4 separate regions of the Homo sapiens genome follow, and all the other regions are linked to region 1. The links are contacts of gene promoters, found by promoter capture Hi-C in blood cells and fetal thymus (Javierre and others, 2016). All regions are on one chromosome and are shown on one strand. Each heading gives the region's core, a stretch centred on a gene start or on the middle of the fragment in contact. The rest is flanking DNA. Distances are from core to core; before and after follow the strand shown.

Region 1 (2,700 bases), core at 42-2,541:
GGGGCTCCAGCATATTCATGATGTCAATCGCCTTGGACTACATGCCAGCGTCATTGCGAACCTGCTACACTTTACAAAATAGCTTTCCAATGAGAAAGAAAACCTACTGGGAAAGAAAAACAAAAAGAAACTAGACCTTGCAACGGGCACGCACGCGCACTATCCCTCTCTGAAATATTTATAGTACGCTTACACAAACGCGAACTTGTAAATCAAAACTCTGCCTGAACCAAAGTAGCCAATAGATTAAAAGTATGTAAATTAGGAATTCCCAAACTGCTCTTTTTATTGGCTAGGAAAAGAACACCTTACAGGGAATCCGATAGGTTAATTCACAATAGTGTTAGGCTGTAATGTCATTCTTTAAGAATCTTTTCCAGTAAACATTTGTTACTTTTTCAAAGTAATTGGGAGCTGTTGAGTGTGGAAGCGAAAACCAAGTTAAGAAGTCCTGTTATTTGGGTGAGTCCAGTTCCTATAAAAGTTCTGTTGGATGTGTCTTAAATTGTTCGGTGCACCTCAGCTCTCTCCCGCAGGGATCCGGAGAAACTGCGCCATTGTTGTCTTACAGAGAAACAACCTTCTAACACTCTCTTCGCCGCCATCTTTTTCAAGATTTTAAATTGAAAATACTTTTTTTGACGGCTCTTGCCATTATGTCTGGACGTTTTAATTTCAACAAAACGAAATAATAGTGTTAAGTTCTTTGAGTCAAACCCGATATTACAGAGGTAGGGATTCCAGGATATTAGAATTTTACTATAACACAAATGAAACACAAAGTTCCTTATGCTTAACAGTGTATCTTAGAAAACCTTGTTTGAGTGAATTAGCCTTGTACTCTATAATGAAACGAGGAATCATTGAGAGATACTTAGGCAACGGATTTTAAATGAGTGAATAAGGAAGGGAAAAACTTCAGGAAAATGCAGAAAAAAGCAGCGGAGATTTTGGAAAAAAAATTCTAAAGCACTTTCTAACGCAAACACATTCGATTTTTTATAGCTAAACAGGATAACAGATCAGTCTATTAAGTTAAATGATCAATGTCTTTGCAGGTCATGGTCTACGTGAAACATCAAAGAAACCTGTAACGGAAAACGACTTGTTTGAAAGAGCCAGTTCTCTATCCAAATTTACCAATCAGAATCTTGCACTGAAAAAATAAACCAATCGTGAATCTCTACGGCCACTTCCGGAATTTAGCAACCGATCACTAACAGGGATCGTCCACAATCCAATCAGAGTGATTCTGTTCCTATATAGAGGGGCAAACCAATCTTCCTAACTCATTTACTTTGCAGATGAACTATGGCGCGTACTAAGCAGACGGCTCGTAAATCCACAGGCGGTAAAGCACCGCGCAAACAGCTGGCCACTAAGGCAGCTCGCAAGAGCGCTCCGGCCACGGGCGGCGTGAAGAAGCCCCATCGCTACCGCCCTGGCACCGTGGCTCTGCGCGAGATCCGTCGCTACCAGAAGTCTACCGAGCTTCTAATCCGGAAGCTGCCGTTTCAGCGCCTGGTGCGAGAAATAGCTCAGGACTTCAAGACCGACCTGCGCTTCCAGAGTTCCGCGGTGATGGCGCTGCAGGAGGCCTGCGAGGCCTACTTGGTGGGGCTTTTCGAGGACACCAACCTGTGCGCTATTCATGCCAAACGCGTGACCATCATGCCTAAAGACATCCAGCTTGCCCGCCGCATTCGTGGGGAGAGGGCGTGAATTGTTTTGAGTACAAACCTTAAATCCAAAGGCTCTTCTCAGAGCCAACCACTTTGTCCGTGAAAAGGGCTGTAATCCTTTGAGACGCATTAGACCACTAAACTGCACTGATCCAAATAGACATTTGAAATAGTGGCATTCAGTTCCCTCGATGCTTCATTTAAATTTCCAAATTTAAGCGCTCCCTCAGGTTTTCGCCTAGGGCTGGGCCTCCCTACGCTGTTCTCCATTGGTTTAGCTGGCTTTGTTTTGCTGTTCAGGCCCTCTGCTGCTTTCTTGTACATTGTTCTCGTTTTCTAAACTCCTGGCCACTTAATTGTACCCTGCTTAACCCATCCTCTTGTTTTCTGGCTCAACGCTCTTTCATGTGGTGGCCTGCATTTTAGGTCTTAACTGCATAGGCTTTCAACGCCTTGGTTTTGCCTTTCCTTGATGTTTATTTGACCTTGCCCGAGGGGCCAGCGCTTTTGATCTGCATCAGGCTGCCTTACTCCACTAGTGTTTTGAGACCCAGCTACTTGCCGGCGACGGTCGGTGCCTTGGGTGCGGTCAACGTTACTCTCTGTGCGCCTGATACTGGTCTAAGGCTAAGGTTATTAGCTGGAACACCTAGACCCGTGGCACTAACACACAGCTCTTGCAGACTTGACAGCCTTGCATAGGTTCTAAACTGCAGGAGTCAAAGCAACGAAGGTGCAGATGGGTGTGTCTCAAACCTGAGTGCGAAAGGAAAATGCAGAAATCATGAGCCTTTTCAACTTTCCAGTTGATATCTTTTGTTTGCTTTTTTCTTTTCTTATTTATTTATTTATTTATTTATTTATTTATTTATTTATTTATTTTGAGACGGAGTTTCGCCCTTGTTGCCCAGGCTGGAGTGCATTGGCGCGATCTCGGCTCACCGCAACCTCCGCCTCCCGGGTTCAAGCGATTCTCCTGCCTCAGCCTTCCGAGTAGCTGGGATTACAGGCATGAGCC
Region 2 (2,700 bases), core at 63-2,562, 1.6 Mb after region 1:
TCAGTTTTGCTTAGGACTCATCTTGTCCACATGAACCATTCCAGCCTGCTTTCTCATGCTCTTATTCTGGGATATCTTCCTAACCCCAGTATATCTGCCTCAGTGTCTCACCCTGTCTTTTTAGAAAAGGAAAAAAAAAAAAAAAGAAAGAAAACGTAAATGAAATTGGTGGAGAGTAATGGCCACCAATCCTATGCCTGACCTGGAACTGGAAACACAAGGCTTTCCTGAAGACAGAGAAACTCTGAGAAAACGGGAAAAGCAAGTTGGTGAAAAGAGCAAAATAAAAGTTTCAGAAGGGACTTTCTTGACATAGCACAGGATGAAGGAGTATCAAAGGTCTCTGTTTGGGCCCTTGGCTGGGAAAGCCCACATTCGCTGAAAGTGAAAGCTGTCCGCAGACATAACACCAAAGGGTTAGGGTAGGAAGCCCCTTTTTATGAATTCAACGGCAGGGATAGGGGTGGGGATAAGGTGGGGCTGCGTGGGTACACCAGGCGCCCGGAAAGCTGCAAAAGGCGTTAGGTCAATATGCAAAAATACTTCTAGGTCAATACGCAAAAATACTTCTAGTGTTGGGAAAGAAATTTTATTGGGGACAGGAAACAAGCGAACTGGCTAATATACTTTCTCTCTAAGGAGAGTAGTCTGACTTAATGCCTTCCTCGATTCTCTCTAAGGGCTTCTGAGGGCTTTGCTTGACTTTTCTCCTGTTTCTGCTCCTGAGCCCAAAGCAGCTCTTAAAGAAAGAAATGTCAGGTTTTGAAGCATGTTTGGTAGATTTGGAAAGGGCAACTCGCAACTTGAAGGGGATTGTTGGAATCAACTGGTTCTAGAGTGAGCTGATCTTAAGAGGCCAAGAGGAAAAAAGAAAAACCGGGAAAGAAACAGTGAAAGAAAAACAGAAAGAGGCAAAACAGTGTAACAACAACAACAACAACAACAACAAAATGGCTGATCACCTGCATGATAAATAAGAAGAGTAGAAGCGTGTTTTCCGTTAGCAGAGTGGCGCAGCGGAAGCGTGCTGGGCCCATAACCCAGAGGTCGATGGATCTAAACCATCCTCTGCTAAAGAAGGGTGCTTTTTTTTTTTTTTTTCCCCCCCCCCTTCTTGAGGAATTACCTTCCACAGTTGTGGGGAGAAGATGGCCTCTAAATATATATTATATATATTATATCTCTCTCTCTCTCTCGCTCTCTCTCTCTTAAAAGTCCTTTCAGAGGCTGTATCTCACTTTTAGATATGTCTTCAGCATGTTCCTTCTCCTTTCTCCAAATGTTTGCGTAACTCCTTTCTTACTCATATCTTATTTGGAAAGGCATATCTTACTTGGGAAGAGGAGGTGACAATTCTCATGTTTACTTCCAACAAATTACCTATCTTCCAGTGAATAGAAAATACACTGAGGTTGAATATAATTTTATATTTTCTTGCACTCGAAGGCAAAACACTGTTACTGACTTTTGCCTGAGACCATTGGTTATTGTAAATCGTTATTGTCTTTTTGCTTCTACGGGAGCCTCCTGCTTCTTTTGCTCTTTTGTTCATCTCTATGCATGATTTATTAAATTCATTTCGTGTACTGTGAATTCTTCTCTAAAGCTATCTGTTACGATGGCCAAAAGACATCATTTATACCCTCCTCCTTCCATACTTACAGAAACTAGACACATGGAATGTTATGAGAAAGAGAAGCAACAATGAAGTTAAGTGTAAAATGGTTGATTCTACTTGGATAGATTTTTTTAAAAAATGTAAATGGTAGAAAACATAGGGGTACATTTAAAGCATTTTGTGAATCAGAATTCCATGGGCAAACTCAGAAGACCAATAATCTTTATTTTGTCTGCTTACCTTCTAGAAGCATTTTAACTAACTTTAAATGTCCAGGCATAAGAGATTGGTTGAATAAACTGTAACATGGACTCAAAGAGGAAGCGCTATGGGGCTACAAAAAAGATATAATTTCTAGGAGATAGTGTTAAGTAAAGAAAGTGCAGATGAATATTATAGTAGGCTACCTTTTTTCAAGAAGGAAGGGGAATTAAGAAAACATACACATACCTGTTTTTCTTTCTGAAAAGAAAACATAGTGAAGATAAACCAGAAAACAGTGAATCTGGCTACCTAAAATGGTGGTAAGAGACTTGGGGGAAATGGAGTGTAAGGGACATGGGACGCCACTTCTCTGAGTTTACCTTTTGTTATACCTTTAACTTTTGAAAGCATGTGAATGTTTTACTTTTTTTTTTTTTAACGGAAGAGGTTCTCTGTGTGAACATGTTGACTAAATACAAAAGGGTTATAAAAGGTCTTTGCTTCTTTAAAATTTCTGAGTCATCGTTTTGGCAAAATAAATAACTTATAGCAATCTGGAATTCCCAAAATCAAACATCGGTTTCAAAAATCTCTTCCCTGGCACCTGGCTTTTTGAATACTTCAGCGGGCCCCTGAAGTGTCCAGAAAAGACAGGTAAACAGGATTATTTGACACGTTTAGGTACATGGGATTGCCAAAATGATGCTCAATCTTCTTTAGGCTATATTTTTGTGAATAATACTAATATATATTTCAAAATTGTATGGGATTTCTAAAATAGTATAAGCTATTAATTATAGTTATGTTAAGTTATTGTAAACTGCAGAAACAACCAAATTTTCTTGTATAAAGCTACTAACCCAAGTAAAACAAAAACT
Region 3 (2,700 bases), core at 189-2,688, 1.3 Mb after region 1:
GATTCGCGGTTGGGCGGAGACACGTTCGCTGAATTGCCTTGCGTATATTTGGTAGGGGAAACGTGTGACTACAGAGCAAAGAAAGATGGACAATAGCGAGTAACTTCACAGGGATTTCCTAAGAGCTCCATTTTCACGTCAATTCCTCGTTAGTATAGTGGTGAGTATCCCCGCCTGTCACGCGGGAGACCGGGGTTCGATTCCCCGACGGGGAGGAGGCTTAAACTTTTTTTTAGAAAAGCACACTTCCGGTAAACACAGTCTCTAGTCTTCTGGGCAAATGTTGGGTTCTCTTTTTCTTTAGCAGAGTTCTTTCAAACCAACGAAATACTGATCGCAAAAACCATAAGCTGTAGAAATCATGAGGTTCTGTAATAGCAAGAAAATTTCCACTCTGCACTGTAATCTCCATCACAGTGGAGAAACCGGGTAGATACCATCTTACCCAAGTGATTGAATCAGTATTGGGACGAATCTACATTATATACCTTTTTTACAGGATGTGCTCATGAGAGCACAACGTCACTTTTGTGGTATTCTTGGCAAAAATATGTAATCTAAATCAGAAAACATCAGACAAACCCATATTGAGGGAGATTTTAACAAAATAACTGACTTGTACGCCTCAAAAACTGCAATTACTTTTGCATCAACCTAGTAACAGGCAAGCAGGGAGGAAAAATAAATAAATAAATAAATAAATAAATAAACAAATAAATAAAATAACAAAGTTACAGAACACAAAGAAAGGCTGACTAAATAGTCCACATTATAGAAGATCTTAAAGATATGACAGCAACATATGGTCTGGAATTTTTATCTTAAAGGACATTATTGAAATAGTTGGTGAAATCTCAATAAAGTCTATAGATTTTATAATATTATGAATGTGAATTCCTGATTGTATTAATTGTTCTATGGTTATAGAACAAAATGTCTTTAAGAAAATTCACACCTATTTACAAAATACGTATTTAAGGGTAAGGGGAGGTATGTGTCTTCAAACTCACTGTCAAATAGTTCAGAAATATACATTTATGTATATATATGAGAGAGAGAAGGAAAAGAAAATATAGGAATATCCTTAATGTGCTAATATTGAGGGAATTGGGGTGAAGGGTGCTCAGGAATTATCTGTATTATTCATGTACTGTGTCTGTCAGTCTAAAATAATTTCAGAATGGAAAGTTAAAAGGAGAAAAGCCTAATAAAACTATAAATGAAAATATACGAATTAAAATGTAAAAGGGCAAATATACAATTTTGAACAATGCATATGACAAGAGTGACGACTACATTAATGAATAGGAATTTAGAACTGATGAAGGAGTGGGATTCAAAATGTTATAAGTGAGCAAGAAAATTCATAACATGTGACAAAAGCTACATAAAGAGTGAATGCCTGAAACAACATTGTTTCGTAATGATTACATGTTGGAATATGAAAACAAATGGTACTAAATTTCAAAACAGCAACGACAATATAAAATGGAAAGGTATGGCGAAATCCAAATCATTCTAAGCTCCTTTATAATAAGGTAGGAATTAGAAGTGTACCTAGTATATACCCTCGACCAACGCTGAATGGATGAATATTAAAAGCAATATTTTTGTGAGCCATAATCAAAGCCAACAGCATTGCTTCTTTAATGAAAGAATACTCTTCCAGCATATAACAATATGTCTGATTTTGTTTTAAAAATACTTATTGGCCAGGCGAGGTGGCTCATGCCTCTAATCCAAGCACTTTGGGAGGCTGAGGCGGGTGGATCACCTGAGGTCTGGAGTTCGATACCAGCCTGGCCAACCTGCTGAAACCCCATCTCTACTAAAAATACAAAAATTAGCTGGGTGTGGTGGCGGGCACCTGTAATCCCAGCTACTCGGAGGCTGAGGCAGGAGAATCACTTGAACCCGGGAGGCGGAGGTTGCAGTGAACCAAGATTGCAGCATTGCACTCCAGCCTGGGCGACAGAGCAAGACTCTGTCTCCAAAAAAAAAAAAAAGAAAAATAATTATTATTAACATTTTTGTCATGAAATTTTGGCCATCAAATTTAAAAGTTAATATTATTGTGCAACACTTTCAGCCAATGGATTCTTTTTTTCGTTAACACTATTGAACAGTAGAGTGATTGATGCCTCATCCTTTTCACCTAACATTGAATCTCGTTTGTCTCTATTACTTCCTTTTAATCTATTATTTCTTTTTTAATCTAGAAGAAAAATGATTCATCGTGGATAAGAACTATAAAGCAATTGTTTTGTTTGTTTGTTTGTTTCTGGCTTTTTTTTTTTTTTGAGACAGAGTCTCGCTCTATCGCCCAAGCTGCTGTGCAATGGCGCAATCTTGGCTCACCACAACCTCTGCCTCCTGAGTTCGAGCCATTCTCCTGGCTCAGCCTCCCGAGTAGCTGGGATTGCAGGCGTGTATTTTGAGTAGAGACAGGGTTTCACCACGTTGGCCAGGCTGGTCTTGAACTCCTGACCTCGTGATCTACCTGCCTCAGCCTCCCAAAATGCTGGGATTACAGGTGTGAGCCACCAAGCCCGACTTAAAGCAACTGTTTGAAGGCACTGATAAGCTGTCAACCCAGGCAAGGCTTGACAAACTACAATCCTTGAGAGAAGGGAAGCACATTATATGAGTTTGCACATTTGAAAGTGCTTTCCTCCTGAAGGTGTGTCCCGTATTGCACCA
Region 4 (2,710 bases), core at 7-2,506, 1.5 Mb after region 1:
TCACAGTGGTGGTACGTTTCTTGCCCTTGTACTTTTAGTGTACTAAAACCAACAGCCAAACTTTATCATTTTAGCAATCCAAGTATTCACCCATGAGCCCCAATTTCTTTGCAAATGCCAGGCAAGAAAACCTCAAGTAGATAGAGAAGTAGAGAGCAGATGATTTGATTTTTTTAAAAAAATTCTACCATAGTGTCCTTATCTTATCCATGCAACTTGTTCTGATCTTCATCTTTCTAGTGCCAGAAAATGACCCTTTTAGGAACCCGGACCTGTAAGACTGAGCTCTTGGGACTATTAGCATTTGTTACAGAGCAGGTAAGCTTCAGGATGAGATATACTGGGGAACAGGTACAAGGTTACAAGATTGGATTCTATGTCACAAATAATTATTTCTCTGGAATGTGACAGTTCAATGCTATTTGATTTAGAAAAGGAGGATAAAACGCTCGTGTATTTTTTTCTTTTCTTTGTTCTTCTCTCCCTTTTCACTGTCTTCCTCTATCTACTTTCACTGCACACCTAGAAGCAAGCTGCCTTCTTCCAGATTCCTCCTTATAACTTCACTTTGCATATAAACACCACACACTCTCTGTGCTTAGAGGTGGTGGTTGGGCTGCCAGACCAGTCTGGAGAAAGTCTGTGCTTACTTTTTCCTCTACTTAGTATTCTTTCTTCCATGGGTGCCAGGAACAGAGAGCCCCTTCTCACCTTGAGATCATGTGAGCTGGTAGTAGCTGGATCATGAATAATTGGAATGCTGTGGGTAACAACTGAAAGAAAGACTGTAATTCCCAATTAACAAATTAGACTGTATTTCCCAATTAACAAATCAAGACCAGATTAGCAGCAACAATGATCATTAAAAATATTGTTAAAGAAAAAAAGAAAGAAAAAAGATAAAAAATATTGTTAAACTGGACATAGTGGTGTACCTGTAGTTCTAGTTACTCTGGAGACGAAGTAAATCAGGAAGATCACTTGAGCCCAGGAGTTTGAGGTTGCATGTGCAATGATTGTGTCTGTGAAAAGCCACTGCCCTCCAGCCTGGGCAATATAGGGAGACTCCATCTCTAATTTAAAAAAAATTGTTGTAAACACATTTATTTCATATTAATTAAAATAAATTATTGGCTGGGCACAGTGGCTCATGCCTGTAATTCTAGCACTTTGGGAGGCTTAGGCGGGATGATCACTTGAGCCATGAGTTCGAGACAGCCTGGGCAACATTGCGAGATCCCCATTTCAAATTTTTTTAAAAAGAAAAATAAATTATTGAGCTACAAACAATGTGCCAGACAATTGTGACCCTATGTTGTCACTAGGAGTACCAGAGGCATGCAGGACAAGATTACACAATCCTAACTCTCAAGGAGAAGAAAGAGGAACATGAGCAGCCAATATGCCATAAGCAAAAAGTGGAGCAACAGACGTACAGATTGCGAAGCATTTGGATGGTAGTATAGAGAGGAGGCATCTTCTTAGTCCTTATGAACTGGCAGGGCAGATCTGGCAGGGATCTTTGGAGCCAAAATATCTGAGTACAATTCCTTCCTCTGCCACTTTCTCATCATATGTAGGGTTTCAGGCAAGCTATTTGGCTTCTTCATGACTCTGTCTGTGCTGGTAAAATGGATATGGATACAGTGTGTACCTCATAGAATTATCATAAACTCAATTAAGAAAAACTCCCTGAAGTGTTTCAGACAGTGCTCAACTTACAGAAGTAGTTACTGCTTTTATTTTTAGTATTACTTTTAGCCTTGTCAAGCCTCCTGAGTCAAGATCTATCCCTGTCATTTCGGGTTTACATTTGAGCAAGTTAAGGCTTGAACAATGTGCTGAGGTTATGCTAGCTAGGAAAGGACACCACCAGGTGTGTTTGTCTCCAGAACTGGTGTTCTTGACCACCATGCTATACTAGGTAGTTTTATAAACCCCTGTTTATGACAAAAAAAGATTATAGAGAATATTATGGACCTCCTTATTTCCATGATCCTACTTCAACAATTAGTCTCTCCTCCCTCTGCCAAGCCCCCATGATAATTTAAAGCAAATTTAGACATTTTCATCTAGCAACAGCTTTTTGTGGCATTTTCATAGCATATGCTTCCATTTAACTTTGTAGTTAATGAGGAAATTTGTTGAGCTGTTCTCCCCTGGGCGGGAGAGATGCCATGCAGGGAGTCCTAAGCTTCCCATTGTCCCTCAGATCAGTAAAGAAGACCAGCCCTAAGCTGCTGACCACAGGTTCATGGGACTCTTCTGAGGGAATGTGAGGCCCAGAACTTACGCTAGTGATTCTCCAGGTGGACTATTCCTAAGATTCCTTGCCATACCCCCTTCTAGTGCAGAGGGTCTCTGGTATGGCCCACAAGTCTTAATTTTTAGAAGCTTCCAGGTGATTCAGAAGCTGAGGACCTTTGGGAAGATTTTGACAATCCTTTCATTAATGACAAATTTGTTTCATCTTAAAAAACAAAACTTCATCCTTGTATGTGTGGAGGAGGACACTATAGTGAAATTAAAGAAAAAAAAAGTCAAATTATCTGCTCCCTCCATCTACCTGAGGTTTTCTTGCTTGGCATTTGCAAAGAAATTGGGCGCATGGGTGAATACTTTGATTGCTATAAAGAGTAGAGTTTGGCCGTTGATTTTAGTACACTAAAAGTGCAAGGGCAAGAAACATACCAGCACCTTGACAGTTTCT

The links. The method cuts DNA at HindIII sites, captures the fragments that hold promoters and counts their contacts. A CHiCAGO score of 5 or more calls a contact.
Region 2: a contact is called between a fragment that was not itself captured here and the fragment with the promoter of H3C6 in region 1, in 1 of 17 cell types (M2 macrophages). The highest score is 6.9, in M2 macrophages.
Region 3: a fragment that was not itself captured here is called in contact with the fragment with the promoter of H3C6 in region 1 in 1 of 17 cell types (naive CD8 T cells); the score reaches 6.0 in naive CD8 T cells.
Region 4: a fragment that was not itself captured here is called in contact with the fragment with the promoter of H3C6 in region 1 in 1 of 17 cell types (monocytes); the score reaches 5.1 in monocytes.

The regions. Positions count from the first base shown.
Region 1 is chr6:26,223,844-26,226,543 of GRCh38, forward strand. H3C6 (H3 clustered histone 6) reads left to right here and starts at 1,292. Exons shown (of 1, transcript NM_003532.3): 1 at 1,292-1,773. The coding sequence starts at 1,312. The coding sequence ends at 1,722. RefSeq lists enhancers at 1,302-1,918, 1,919-2,534. The HindIII fragment of the contact is 11,157 bases long and covers 1-2,700 here.
Region 2 is chr6:27,776,883-27,779,582 of GRCh38, forward strand. No RefSeq gene overlaps it. Among named protein-coding and RNA genes, the nearest start is that of TRQ-CTG6-1, 13 kb to the right of the region's middle. RefSeq lists a silencer at 1,001-1,060. The HindIII fragment of the contact is 2,981 bases long and covers 1-2,700 here.
Region 3 is chr6:27,479,531-27,482,230 of GRCh38, forward strand. TRD-GTC2-6 (tRNA-Asp (anticodon GTC) 2-6) reads left to right here and starts at 144; the gene lies at 144-215. RefSeq lists a silencer at 197-256. The HindIII fragment of the contact is 3,440 bases long and covers 1-2,700 here.
Region 4 is chr6:27,754,579-27,757,288 of GRCh38, forward strand. No RefSeq gene overlaps it. Among named protein-coding and RNA genes, the nearest start is that of TRV-AAC1-5, 2.5 kb to the left of the region's middle. The HindIII fragment of the contact is 1,871 bases long and covers 322-2,192 here.